Linked DNA regions of Homo sapiens: region 1 is linked to region 2. Evidence: promoter capture Hi-C in human tissues and cell types (Jung and others, 2019). All regions are on one chromosome and are shown on one strand. Each heading gives the region's core, a stretch centred on a gene start or on the middle of the fragment in contact. The rest is flanking DNA. Distances are from core to core; before and after follow the strand shown.

The links. Contacts are between HindIII fragments. The study calls those that stand out against the background at their distance.
Region 1: a contact is called between a fragment that was not itself captured here and the fragment with the promoter of SYNDIG1 in region 2, in 2 of the 25 tissues and cell types used here (dorsolateral prefrontal cortex and mesendoderm cells).

What each region holds. Positions count from the first base shown.
Region 1 is chr20:24,330,756-24,337,436 of GRCh38, reverse strand. All of the region lies in intron 1 of LOC105372577 (a long non-coding RNA gene), which reads left to right. Among named protein-coding and RNA genes, the nearest start is that of LINC01721, 130 kb to the right of the region's middle. The HindIII fragment of the contact is 8,287 bases long and covers 1-6,165 here.
Region 2 is chr20:24,468,265-24,475,810 of GRCh38, reverse strand. SYNDIG1 (synapse differentiation inducing 1) reads right to left here and starts at 6,182. Exons shown (of 4, transcript NM_024893.3): 1 at 6,058-6,182. The HindIII fragment of the contact is 8,441 bases long and covers 2,766-7,546 here.

The DNA of each region.
Region 1 (6,681 bases), core at 773-3,272, 130 kb after region 2:
TCCTATTAGTCCTCTTCTGTGTTTTGTGACATCCAACTGTCTCAAGACTATCCAGCTCAGGGAAATGAGGCTTCCTGCAGCCCTAGCCTGTGGCCATCCTATTCAACCACATCCTTTAGCCTCAGTTCCTGCTGAAGCTGACTCAAGTCTCCTGGAACCTGCCGGGTCACAGGGCTGCCCGGGAGGCGTGCTGAAAACATTTCATCCTTCTCACGTACCTTCCTTTTCCCTGCAAGACACAAACTGAACAGAAGGGACCACTTCCTTTCAACTAAGAGAATAAATGCTGGTCAGAAACAATCTCATCACCCCTTTGAAACCAGGGGCTTGGCACTAAAACTATTTACAACAGGCCACAGAATGAACTCAGAACCCTCCCATGAGTGCCCTTGGAAGCACATTTTCTAAACTGCTTTAGAGGGAAAAAAGAAACCAGCTACATGACTGCTACTCAGAGCTTTCACTTAAATGATAATTTACTGATCTTTTAAGTTAACCTTACAAAAATCTTCTCACATTTGGGTTTTTTCCTCCTTGCAAGATTTGGCACCTTATCTCTGTAAAGTTCCATTAGCCCCTGCTCTGTGTAGCCCTGCTATCTCAGCTCCCGTTTGAATTAGTACACTTCTTAAAGTTTTATTTTGTTTTTAATTGACACGTAATAATTGTACATATTTATGGGGTGAAGCGTTATGTTTTGACACATGTATACATTGTGTAATGATCAAATCAGGGTAATGAGTGTATCTATCATCTCAAACACTCATCACTTTTTGTAGTGAGAGCATTCAAAATTCTCTCTTCTAGCTGTTTTGAAATATACAATACATTATTTTTAACTCTAGTCACCCTAGTGTGCAATGGAATACAAGATCGAATTCTCCTCATCTAACTGTAACTTGGTAACCATGGAGCAGCCTCACTGCGTCCCCCCCCTCCCCATCACTCTCCCCAGCCTCTAGGGAAGCAAACAACAAAGGGGAGAAAATATTTGCAAACTGACATTACACACCTGACAATATCTGGAGTTAATATCTGGAATATATAAGGAACTCAAACAACAGCAAAAAAAATTCTGATATTAAACGGATTTTAAAATAATCTGATTTTAAACACCTCAATGGACATTTCTCGAAAGAAGACATACAAATGGCCAACAGGTGTATGACAAAATGCTCAAGATCATTAATGGGTACAAAGATTAGGTTAGGTAGAAGAAATAAGACCTAGTGTTCAAGAGATCAGTAGGCGACTATAGTTAACAATGATCCATTGTACAATTCAAAATAGCTAGAAGAGAAGAATTTGAATGTTTCTGGCATAAAGAAAAGATAAATGTGTAAGGCGATGGATATCCCAGTTACCCTGATTTGATCTTTACACTTTATAGGATTGTACCAAAATATCAAATGTACACCAAAAATATGTACATCTATTATGCATACATTTAAAAAACACAATGAGTTTTCACCTCGCCAGAGTTAGAATGCTATTATTAAAAAGACACAAATTAACAAATGCTGGTGAGAATGTGGAGAAATGGGAGCTCATATACTGTTAGTGGGAATGTAAATTAGTACAGCCATCTGGACAACAGTGTGGAGGTTCCTGAAAAGATTAAAAATGGAACTACCATATGACCCAACAATCCTACTACTTGGAATGTATATAAAAATAAAAGTAGTGTGTAAGAGATATCGTACCCCATGTTTATTGCAGTGCTATTCATAATAGCCAAGATATAGACTCAATGTAAGTGTCCATCAACAGATGGATGGATTTTAGAAGTGGTATAGATACACAATGGAATACTATTCAGACATTCAAAAGGGTGAAATCCAATCATGCGTGATGATACGGATGAGCCTAGAAGACATTACGTTAAGTGAAATAAGCCCAGCACAGAAAGACAAATACTGCCTCATCTCACTCATATGTGAAATCTAAAAAAGTTGATCTCTTACAAGTAAAGAGTAGAATACATTTTTTTATTTTAGACTAGTTTCAGATTTGCGAAAGTTTCAAAGATAGTACAGAGTTCCCATTTACCCCTCACCCCGTTTCCTCAATTATTAACAACTTACATTAGTATAATATATTTATTGCAATTAATGAAATAGTATTGATAAGTTATTATTAACGTCCTTATTGTAATTATAATTATAATTAACTTAATTTAATTATAGTTAAAGTCCTTACTTTATTGAGATTACCTTAGTTTTTACCTATGTGTGTATGTGTGTGTGCATATATGTGTGTGTGTGGTGTGTGTGTATGTGAGGTGTGTTTGTGTTTGTGTATGTGTGTGTCTTTGTGTGTATGTTTGTGTACGTGTGGTGTGTGTGTATGTGTTTGTGTGTCTGTGTATATGTGTGGTGTGTTTGTATGTGTATGTGTGTGTATGTGTGTATTTTTGTGTGTGTGGTGTGTGCGTGTGTGTGGTGTATGTGTGTGTGGTGTATGTGTATGTGTGTGTATGTGTGTATTTGTGTGTGTGTGTGGTGTATGTGTGTGTATGTGTGTGTTTGTGTGTGTTTGTGTGTGTGTGTGCTCCAGAATCCCATCCAGGATATTATATTGCATTTTGTAATCATGTACATTTAGGCAAATCCTGGCTGTAACAGTTTCTTATAATTTGCTTGTTTTTGATGACAATGTCAGTTTTCTTGCTTTCTGTTGAAACTACTATTTTTTTTAGCATGCTTTCTATTGGGGTTTATATGTTTTTCTCATCATTAGAGAAGTCATGGAGTTATGAGTTTTGGAAAGAAAAACAACAGGGCTGAAGTGTCATTCTGATTACATCATGTCAAGGGTACATGTCATAACAGAGAATCTATTTTTCTTGTCTGCTTCATTTTCTAGAGGCTGCCTGTACTCTGTGACTTGTGGTCCCCTTTTACCTTCAAAGCTCCCAGTGGCTGATAGAGACTTCCTCACATACCGTCACTCTGAAATGGACTCATCTTCTGCCTCTCTCTGCTACTTACAAGGACCCTTGTCATTAATTTGGGCCCAGCCAGATAATCTAGAATAATTTCTTCATTTTAAGGTCATCTAATTAGCAAATTTAATTTCTTCAGCAACTTTAATTTCCCTTAGCCAGTAACCTATCATATTCACAGGTTTCTGAGATTAAGATGAGGAGAGTTGAGATTAAGATGAGGAAAAAAATTAATCTGCCTACCACAAAACCCAAAACCTGGGTGTTAGATATATTTATTGCTGCTGGGGTATCATTGTTTCTAGACCCTCTCAGCAGATAGAGCAAGGAAATATATGTGTGTTTACTAACATCTATTTTTCTATCTTTATATTAAGCTAAATATAAATTTATGCTGATGTCTCCAACTCTAATCCAGCATCACATGAGTTCTAGCCGTTGATTTTCTACAACATTCCACTCCAGCAGTGAGAAACCTAGCTCCACCTTCTGCCATCAGTTTACTCATTTGTTCCATTGAAGTTTACCTGTACACTGGTTTCAGAACCATTTACCCATGTGCCCCATTGGAGACAATTTTATTAACTAGAACACAGTGCTGATGGGCAGTTCCTTTGCCTTCTACATTCTATTCTTCTCTAAAATTACTTAGGTCAATACCTTGCACCTCTATACCTTTCAGTGAGATTATTTCATACATTTGTAATAACACTTTTTTGGGGGGTCATAATTTGAATTCTGGGATTTTCAGTCCCTTTGAATAGAAAGAACTGAAACAGAAGGGTAGGATGATAAATCAGAGTCCAAGGGTCCCTGAGAGTAGGGACATGTTATTTGTAAAAATAACCCAACAGCCCAGGCAGTATACCTTCCCAGATCGCCCAGCATCATCTTGACTGTCCATTGAACTACTAGTCATCTTTTAAAACCTGCTGTGAATGTAATCCTTTCCCTGAATGTCTTGTCTTCTTTTCATTTCCAAACTAAATGAACTCATGCTGTCCTAAGAATGAGACTGCTTCATTTTTAAGTCTGGGGTAAATAGACACCTGTGCATTCATTGCTGCTCTTCGTAAGTGAATCCCACTGTTTCCCCTTAGTGCTTCAAGCATGCCTGTCTTGTAAATCTTCACAGAATGTGTTCACATACCTATCTGTCCTGTTACCACAAGCATAGCCCAAGGACATGTTCTTTCTTTTTAGTATATGAAGACCACAGGTCTTCAAAAGGTAGTGATAAAGAAAAGTGTGCTCTAATATAACACATCAAAGAATGACTGCTCTTCCAGCTGTAGGTCTGCCACATCCTCATTCTCTGCCTCATACTTCACCATTTGTAGGGTTACTCCTGGTTCCTACATGTTAGTGGTGAGTGATCTATCCCATTATACACCCTGGGGCAATGACTGCTAGATAGAATTGCCAAGCCATTTATGTTGGGTAAAGGTGGGGAACTATTTTTCAGAATTATGATATTAGTGTCTCTTAGTACTGGTCAGGAACATAGTTATTTTTCAGAGCCAATTTCAAGGTTTATGTATCTTGTGATGTGTTTCGTCACTACTCTAGTTTCTACTAATACTTTCAATCTCTGAACTCTGAATGAGCTGCCTTTTTGTGCTTGACACTTGGGTCTTAAATACCATGCCACCATGCTGGTCACATTTCCATATGCTTATACCTCCTAAATTATGATAACTACAAGAGATTAATTCAATTTATTCTCCTCTCTAGCTTTCACAGTGCATGTCATGAAATTTTCTATGTAGTAAGTGACCAGTAAATTTATGAGGATTGAGAATGGAAAGATACCTATTGAAATCAATTCCCCATCAAATGAGTGCTGTTATCCTAAGAATACCTACCTTCTGGCCTTATCCAACACAACAGTAACACATATTCACCACTTCCCAACATGGAAAACCAAACACATGGGTTTCCACATTTTCATAGGTTGTAGGCAAGCCAGTGCCTTTACCTGGGCTCTGCCAAAAGCAGAGCCCAACACGTCGTTCTGGGTGCAGGTATTTTATTTGAGAGGTGATCCCAAGAAGGATAAATGAGGGGAAGGAGACAGGAACAGACAGGAAATCAATAGAAGGAACATAATTGAGCTGGTTATTGCTGTGGGCAATGGCATCTTTGTCTAACTAATGATCCTCTGAGAAGCCCTGTAGAATTCACCTAAAAGCTATCCCTTTAAAAATGGGACATTTATGCACTGGCTGCTGGTTCTCATTGGCAGTAATTGTGCCTGGGACACACACCAGCACTATCCCATCACCATTCCCCTCCCACATTCCCAGGCTGCACCTTTGGAGAGAGCCTTGAGGTAGACGCAGCTACCCCGCTGTGTGCCCTTGTGGTGGGAGCTGGCGACGTGCATGGAGCTACCTTGCACAGTTGCACTGACATTGATAGGGCCAAGGGGCTGCCTTGTGAGGGGCAAATGATGTCTGCTATGCAAAACATTGCTTGATTTTTTGAAAGATAAGCTGAGAGTCTAAAAAGCATCATCTAAGTCCCAACTGGGATCTGAGATGAGATTTTCATTTAAAAAAATTTATCCTAAGCATTAGTCTTAAGTGTGTACTCTTCTAAATTTGAGTTTCATAAAATTTGATGGATGTCATTCTAATTTAATATGATGCCTTGGCAGCAAACCACATGAATTTTTGAACATAGGAATTAGAGTATTTACCAAGGCCCAGTTTCTCAACTGGTGAGAGATTATGTTTGAGCCGGTAATGCGCTAATCTGCAAATGTGTACTCTTCAGCAAAGGAAGTGTTATACTGCATTTGTCATTTAGGAACTACTCACCCACAGTAGGAGGGCCCAGAAACCATACTTTTCATCACTACTGTGAGAAACAAGTCTGTGAGGGGAGCCCCAGCATCCTTGAAGAGCTCTATGGTCACTCTTCTCTGATGGCTGAACCTTACATTGGCAATGACAGCCACTCAATTAAGAAACCTAAATGCAATGGGAGTAATTAGATCCTGGGGTGCCAGGGGCCAAGAGGCAGCACTCAGCCACCAAAGACGAGATAGGCATGGTTACTCTAATGGAGGGCAGGGCCAAAGCAGCAATCAAGTAGACTGACTCCAAAGCACCTGTGGCATCAGCTAGGTGATCATGGTGTTCCTAGAAGTGAAATAGACAGTAAGCCTACTAAATTCCTACATGATTTTATAAACAGAAAAGTTTTAGGTCAACTGAATAAAAATCTAACCTGAAACATAAAAACTGAGAATCACGGTCCCTCAATCAATTCCCAGACCTAAGCCAGTTTATAGACCCAGAACTCCTTGAATGAAGGGGAGGACAGGTCACCTTGAGGAAGGATCCTGGCACTCCCAAAAGTCTGTGCTGTTAATCTTGCTCCTAGTCTTCCCAAAATGGAGGCATGTATGTATATATCAGTATAACTGCATTGAGGAAAAGGAAGTAAACCTTTCAGAGACTGCTAGACACTGACTCTGAGCAAACATTAATTCCAGGAGACCCAAAATTTCACTGTGGCCCACGAATCAGATGTGGGTTTTTTTTTGATGGGGCTAGGAGTGGGGAGGGATTCAGATGATAATGGAGTTTTAGCTTAGGTCCATCTCACAGTGGACCCAGTGGGTCCCACAGCCCATCCTGTGTTTATTTTCCAGGTTCTGGAATGCATAATTTGAACAGGCATACTCAGTAGCTTTCAGAATCCTCTCCCACACTGGTTCCCTAACCTGT
Region 2 (7,546 bases), core at 4,933-7,432:
CAAAGGCACTATGGAAACGGTGAGGAATTGGGAGAGAAAAGTAAAGCCAGAATCGTACACAGGCAAGAGATGTCTGAAAGCATTCCAAGACTAGGTTAGGATTGGTGGGACTGCCCTGTGCAGGGTCCTCTCCAAGGTCCTCACAAATACAGGGTTTCCATGGGAGATCTGAGGCAAACGAGTGCCTCTTACAGTCAATCCATGACAGTCAATCATCTATGACTACAAGCCCAGGCCAGCCCCTGTGCTTAGACAGCATGTCAGAAACCACGCACACTACCTATCACATTTCAACTCTTTCAACTGCCCTACTGGTCCTGTGCCATTATCCCATGGGGCACTCGACCCATAAGGACAAGGTTTCTTATAAGGGAGACACATGGGTGATGGGCTGAGGCTGAGATGTCAGACATGAAGGTTGGCTACAGAAACACATAGGCTTTCTTAAATGCACTTTTAGAAACTGCAAATAATTAACAATGGAATTGGTACCAATCTTTTGTAGGATGAGTTGGGCTTCCCTGGGGGCTACCCTAAAGCTAATGCCTCAGGCCACTCCCCAGCATGGCTACTGGGTTTCCACTGGGAAACTGTCCCAGGACTTAATCCCATTAGCATCTTCAGGAATAAACTCCTGCATCTCAGACCCATGCTAGCTGAGGGTCTGTACCACCAACATGTGAGGACCAAGATCATAGGAGGAAGTTAAAAACTGCCTATTGTACTCATGACAGAAGAGTGAGTTTCTGTAACATTTCATTTATTTGCTTTTCTAAGTGGGGGCATGGGGGGTGGTTCCAAGTGTATTTGAGGTAAGATTACTGTATCTCCCTTTCAGAAAGATCTGTAGTTTAAAGTTGAGGCAATGGAATAAAACTTTTGTGGTTCTAATTATCTGAAATGTGTTTGCTTTCTGGTTTTGTTTTGGGCACTGAAGTTTTCTGAAATAGAGGAAAGGTAAGGAAGAAACAGATGGAGGTAACGTGTGAAAGCGGGCGCCTGCCCAGTGAGGCCAAGTGATAGATTACAACTGAACTTGTTGGAGACCTAAGAATTGTTCAAAATAGAAATTTAACCTAAGTGAGCCGTTCTTGAAAGACGCAGTTTGAAATCCACGCAAGTACTCTCTCCTTCAGACTCATTCTCTAAATGCCACCCCAGTATTTAAAAATGAATGTTATTGACAAAAATTCAGTTAACAACTAAAAACCAAGCAAAAAGTTTTTCACACTGAACACGGATTGCAAGGCCCATCTCTCTGAAATAATGCTAACTGAACTCCTAAATTCTTTTTATGCGACTAAACAGGCAAGGTTATCCCCTGGGTTGTGCCTTTGGAAACAGCTTTTATTTTTATTATTTTCTACCTGTGTTTAATGTTTCCTGGTTCTGTTATTTTTGGTTCTAGCAGTTATTTTTGATCCTGAAGCTTATCTGTTGTTGTTCTTTAGAGTTTCTATTTTCCTTTGTTTTTGGTAGTTTAACAGGTCATTTATCAAACAATAGTTTAAGATGATTTACAGTTTGTCATCCAACCATGCTTGCATCTTGAATCATCACATATTATAAATGGAGGGTGGTGGTCTGTTGGTAATCTGTTTTAAAAATGTTTCCATCTTAGAGAATGCATCATGTAAGTTTTATAACATAATATGAATCTAATTTAGTTATGCTAAGGATAAATTTCATAAGCTATTGCTCACATGCCTTTCCTATCCATTCCTGTAAATCTTTAGCCCACATGGCTATGTACACACCCTGGGTACATTCCTGTGCATGTATCCATCCACCCCAAGTGAGTGCAAACACACTGTCCCAGTCCTCACTCTTGCTGATGGCAGGTTGTAGGCTCCAGACTCTGGGTTCTGCTGCTTGCTAGTTGAATGATCTTAGACAAACCACGTCACTTTTCTGAGACCATTTCTTTTCAACCATATTCTTTCCAGGATTTTGAAAACCAAGCGTTAATGTTGTCACAGCTTGTTAAATGAAAAAGACACTGGATTGAGGACACTTCATTGTCTCAATGTTTCTCTGGGTAAATTTGTATTCACATGGCATTCTGAGAAAACAAATGGGACCTTCCAGATTCTGGAGCCTATGTCTGCTCATGGCACTCGGGAAAGGCCCAGGGGGAAAGAGGGAGTAGCCTGGAGACAGGAGACACTCTGCACGCCTGTCTCCCCAGTGCGTCCCTCCCCCACTCCCCGTGCAATCCAATATGCTGCCTGGACATAAGCAAAGCAACCATGAGGGCACTGAATCATAGCTGGTGCCCGGGTTACTTCATCTGCTCTTTGAACACAAGTTTAGGATCTCTCAGGAATCATTCAAAATGGGCATCTTGCACAGAGAATGCTGAGAAACCACATTTGTTCAAACCTCCTGCCGACAACTTCATTATTCTAATTCTGGTGACGTGGTTAGAGACCTGGTCAGCCTATCTCTAATGTTTTGAATACTGCTTTGTAGAGATTTTGACACCATGCCCCTAGTGTAGTGATGCCGGGTCAAGAGCTAAGGCTCCAAAAACTTCTATCAGTGCACTGCCCCAAAATGACCTTATGCAACTTTCCACTGATACAAGAGGCTGTTTTGCTAGTCATTTACCCCTAGTGTTCTGCTGGTGTTGTCAAATTAACACCCCACATACTTCAGTCCTTGTCACCTTTACCCACTCATTCAAAGAATTTTGCTGATAATGTGACATCTGTTCAAACTATGGGCCACAGCGGTACATTTACTCTGAGATGGAGCCTGCATTTTCCAATGTGCATGAGGGTCTGAAAGGCCAATGTGAGGGGCACAGGGTCAAGCTGGAGTCATGAAAAGACAAGGTTTTATTTGGGGATGGGTGACAGGACATAAAACTGCTCACCTACAAGATGGTTATTCATCTTACAAAAGGTTAACTAAGGACACCTTTAAATAGTGCACTTTATAAAGGTATTCAAAAGTCTGACTGACTCCTCTAAGAACATCACTGACAATTTTTAGGAACTGCTTTTATATACAGGAAAGCACAGAGGTGTGCAGAATGGGAGGGGGCTGGTGGAGGGAGGGCCTCCCCTCCCACTGCCTCCAGTGCCTCCCTGCGTGCCATGCCTCTCCAGACAGTAGAAGTCACAGTGAATATCACATCTCAGCAAGCACAGAGCCTTTTCAGAGGGCAGAGCAGGTGTGACCTGGAGGATGACCAAACATTTTCTAATTAGACAATGAAATGTTCAGTACTCTCCATGAACCTCAGAATAGCACCGACTAGTGCCTCAGATAGAAATCTTACATAAGAAAACAACTTTCTATTCTCTGATAATAGTAATAACTCCCTAGAAAATACGATTTAAAATTAATGAGAAAAATAACTCAAGTCTGGTAGAGCACTTTTAATTTATCTCAATGCTAAATGTGGAAGAAATTAATTGCTTATAATTTTTGAACTGAGTTTTAAAGTTTTTATCAAAAAAAATTCTCTTGCCTATCATGGCTCAACCAGAATCGTGTTCACGCCCTTCATGAATTAGAATGAGTCTGTTCCTATTGCTAACATATCTGTCTTCCCAGGATCCGGACTTGTCTTTCCTTCTTCAATATCTCACCCCTGTACGCCTCAAGTAAAGTTGGCAGGTTTTCCTTTTCTACCCTAAAATGGGAATGGAGGGGGCCTTCATTTTTATTTTAATATCACCTATACTCTAATGGGGTTATTAAAAACTGACATTTCTGATAGGTGAACATAAAATGAAATGTCATCAGCTGGAGATACAGAGGGATGTGTTTAGAGGTGAAGTGAGTTTGGAATGGTTTTTTTATTTTTTTGAAGTTTACATCAAAGTGATTTTGTATTTTTACTGAATTGGTTTATTTTATCAGATATTAACAAATTATAATTGTGTATGTTTATGGGGTACAAAATGATGCTGTGATATGCGTATACAATGTGTCATGACTGAATGGAGCTAATTAACCTACTATCCAATACTTAGCATTTTGGAATGAGTTTTGAAATACTTCATCAAACAAGGCTTCCAAAACTCTGTGGCCTCCAAAACTCTACCAAAGGTAACTGCAGGTGGTGACTGGGTGGGGGGTACACAAAGCTTCAGTGCTATTCTCTGTCTGTCACTGTGTACAACTGAAATTTTCCATAATAAAAAAGTTTAAAAATAGGTTTCTCCATCTTTTCTTTCCTTTTTTTTTTTTTTTTTAACAAGGCCCTCTTGATTATGAGGATTCCGTTTTCAGGCAGGAAATGGGGACAGGGTGAGAGAGGGCGCCGATCAGCTACTGTCAGGCTTGCTCCTTGCAAAGGGGCGGGCGGTGGAGAGAGAGGGGAGGGAGGAATTAAGGGGATCGCGCTTCCTCAGGGCCCACAGGCCTCATACCTGTGGTGTGGACCTCCAAAAGAACGGGCCACACCACCGCCAAACACAGAGCACGCAATTCAACTAAAAATTCGACTTCAGTTTCTTCCTGTCCGCGCCAGAACGGACATCAGACTGCCCCCCGCCCGCCTCCTAGCAGCTCCTTTTCACTTCGGCTGCTGCCAGGATTTCGCGACCTAGACCCCTCTTTGAAGACCACTTCCGATCCCCGACGCGGCAGCCCTTGAGGTCGCAGCCTAGCACGGAGAAGTTGGCCGGCTCTGGGGGCTATGAGGCTGCTCACCCCACAGGCGCAGGTCTACGCAGCACACACACCACCTCCTTCTTTGGACTCAGACCAAACACGCTGGGCTGTAGGAGGGAGACGGACAGATACACGGACTCGCGCGCGCACGCCTCACCAACTGATTCCAACCAGAAAACGGAGCCACTGTGTAACGCCCAGCCCCCCTCCCCTCGACACCCCCAATCAGCCAAGCCTTCGGCCGGTGTCTGCTGCACTAAACACCAGGACGTGGCCAGGGAAGGCGCAGGCATCGGTCCGAGCCAGGAGCGCCGCGGCGCCAGCGCATCTGACGTCGCAGGAGGACTGTGCGCACCTGAAGTCTGGGTGCCAAGCGCCCAAGCCTCTGCGTGCAACGAAACCCCCAAAGGAAAACAGGACTACCAGAAGACCCCTTCCTCTCGTCTTTCAGAAACGCCAAGCGGCCCCTCTGGCCGCCTCCTCAAAGCTCGGCTGCCAGAGCCACTCTAGTAGGGTCTTGCAAAAAGCGCATAGGGACAAAGCCCCTTCCCTAAGAAAAGTGCCCAACTCATCCAGTGAGCCATTCCTTCCTCCTCACTGCCCAGAGAGTGCACATGAAGAGGCAGAAATCACGACTAGGAAAAAGCGAGATTCAAATTGGAACCAAAAAAGCGTATGTGCTCGCTCCCATCTCGGCGCCAGGGCTGTGGCTCCCAGGGCTGCAGGCTGTCGCGGCTGCCAGGGGCCAGACAGCTTTTGAAGGCAGGTCTTGTCCTGGCTAGAGGAAAGAGGCTCCAGGAGTCTCTGCTTCCGCCACGGTCGCCCGTCGGGATTCCCCATCCCAAGCGCGCTTGCACCTTGCCTGCCGCTCCGCTCGGAGAATTAGTCTGTTTCCCTTCCTACTCCCAAACAGACCTAGGTCCCCAGCTCCGTGGCCGCCCGGCTCACCAGCCCTGGCTGGTCTCCTTCGGGTCACTCCGAGGGGCAGCCCGAACCCGCAGAGCCTTGGCCCGCCGCGCGCCCTCATGGCCCTGCTGGGCAGCCTGGCTCCGCTACGCTCTCAGTTCTCGGTCTCACCAGCTCCCATCGAATTCGCACAGCAGCCCCTTCGCGTCTCCCGGGGTGGCAAGGCACCAAGGTGCAGCCCAGGCCAGCATCGACCCCTTCCTGGGCATTTTCTCTGCCGGCTCAGCTCCCCCTCCCGCCCTGCGACCCCGTGTCTCCCAAGTCTCGTCGCGGCGACCACCCGGACTTACCGCGGGCGCCACGCCGCCGCCGGGTCTGCGCGCTCCGAGGCGGAGCCAGGACTAGGACACCCGCCAGCGCAGGGCAGCCTCCAGCTCCCGCCGCCAGCTCGCGGCCCCTGCCGCGACCCCGCCCACTGCGGGCCCCTCCGCCCGCCCCCGCGGCCGGGAGGTCTGGACTTACCTCCGGGACAAGGTGACCCGGCAAGTGCGCCCAAGCGGCCGCCCGCGACTCTCCCGAGCGAGCGAGCGTGCGGGGCGGTGCGGCGCCCGCCTCTGCTCCTCCGCTGCCAGGCTCTCTCCTCCTCTGCCCTCCCCTCAGCGCCGCTCTGCTCCCCACGCCTCTCCCCGCCCTGCGCTCTCCGCCTGCGCCCCCGGCTGCCCCGAGCGCCGGGCGCGGGGCAGCGGCGGCAGCCCGAGCGGCGGGGAGTCGGGAGCTGCGGCGCCGGGGCGGAGCCCAACCCTCTCGGCCCCCGGGAGAGGAAGGGGTGCGGGGAGACTCTCGTCGCGCTCGCCTGGCCGGCAGGCTGGGCGAGGGGCGCCCTGGGGCGAGCCGCTCCTCTTCGCTTGCCGAGCCTGCCGACGCGCGTGCTGGAGGCAGCGGGCGCGGGCCCCGGGGGAGGAGGGCAGGGAAGAGAAGGAGGGCGCAGCCCGCGCGAAGGTGGCCACCAACTTTGGCCCAGACCAGGGAGGCCCTAGCGGGGGATCGCGTCCAGATGGTGGCCCGCGGCCAGTGTCTGACAATGTGAGGGCCACAGAGGCTGGGGGCGGGGGATAGCTGCGGGGGACTAGGAGGACAGGAATTTGCTGCCCGACTAGAGGAAGGGATGGCTCCCCTCGGTCCTAAAGGCCTCCCCAGGCTGCGGTTCGGTTTTGAGGTTAAAAATGACCCAATTTATGGATCCGGCGAATGTTCAAGTCCTGACCAGCTAAGCCCTGGAGGAGCAAGCGGGCGCGGAGTTCAGACTCCAGAGACCCCCTCAGCCCTGAGCCAGCCTGTTGTTGGCCCATGGCGGGCCCGCCCCAGTTGGAATTGGAAGGAAACTAGGGCGGTGGTAAGACAGTCTGCGTTCTAGGAGCGGAGGAGGTGGTGTTTGCAGTGTAGATTTCATAGAGAATCAACTCTGAAAAAAAGATTTACCAGAAAGGGGGTCAAAAGTTATTTAGAAAAGCATCTGTGCGCCCCCGTTTCAACACTAGGCAGAGGCCCCAGTCCTGCCACCCGCAGGCTGGTACACTGGTGGTCAGAGAAGGTTAAGCTCCAGAGTTCCATGGCTCCCAACCTTCCTAGAGCCCTCCCTCCTGCCTGGTAACCCACCATTGCGCTGCGTCTTGCCCAGGTGTCCTGGTGGGCAGGGGCAGGAGTTAAAGGTGGTGCCAGGAACAAGAGGTCCTTCCTATATTCCTTTCAGGGGACGTGGCTTCTAGGGAGCCTCCGCAGCCCAAAGAGAATGCTGAAATGCAGAGTGCCAGAAGGAGGCATTTGAAGGAGGCGCGGATGAGTGGAACCAGTACTATCACCTGAATTCCATCCCCGTCTTCATGTCTGCAGCCCCGCGAGACACACCTGATGTTTCTTCCTTTAGGTCCCCAGAGCTGCAAGGCTGTGGTCTGGAACACTCAGAAACGGGCACTGTTCATTTCTCCCATCTAGCAGAACTTCTCAACTTGGA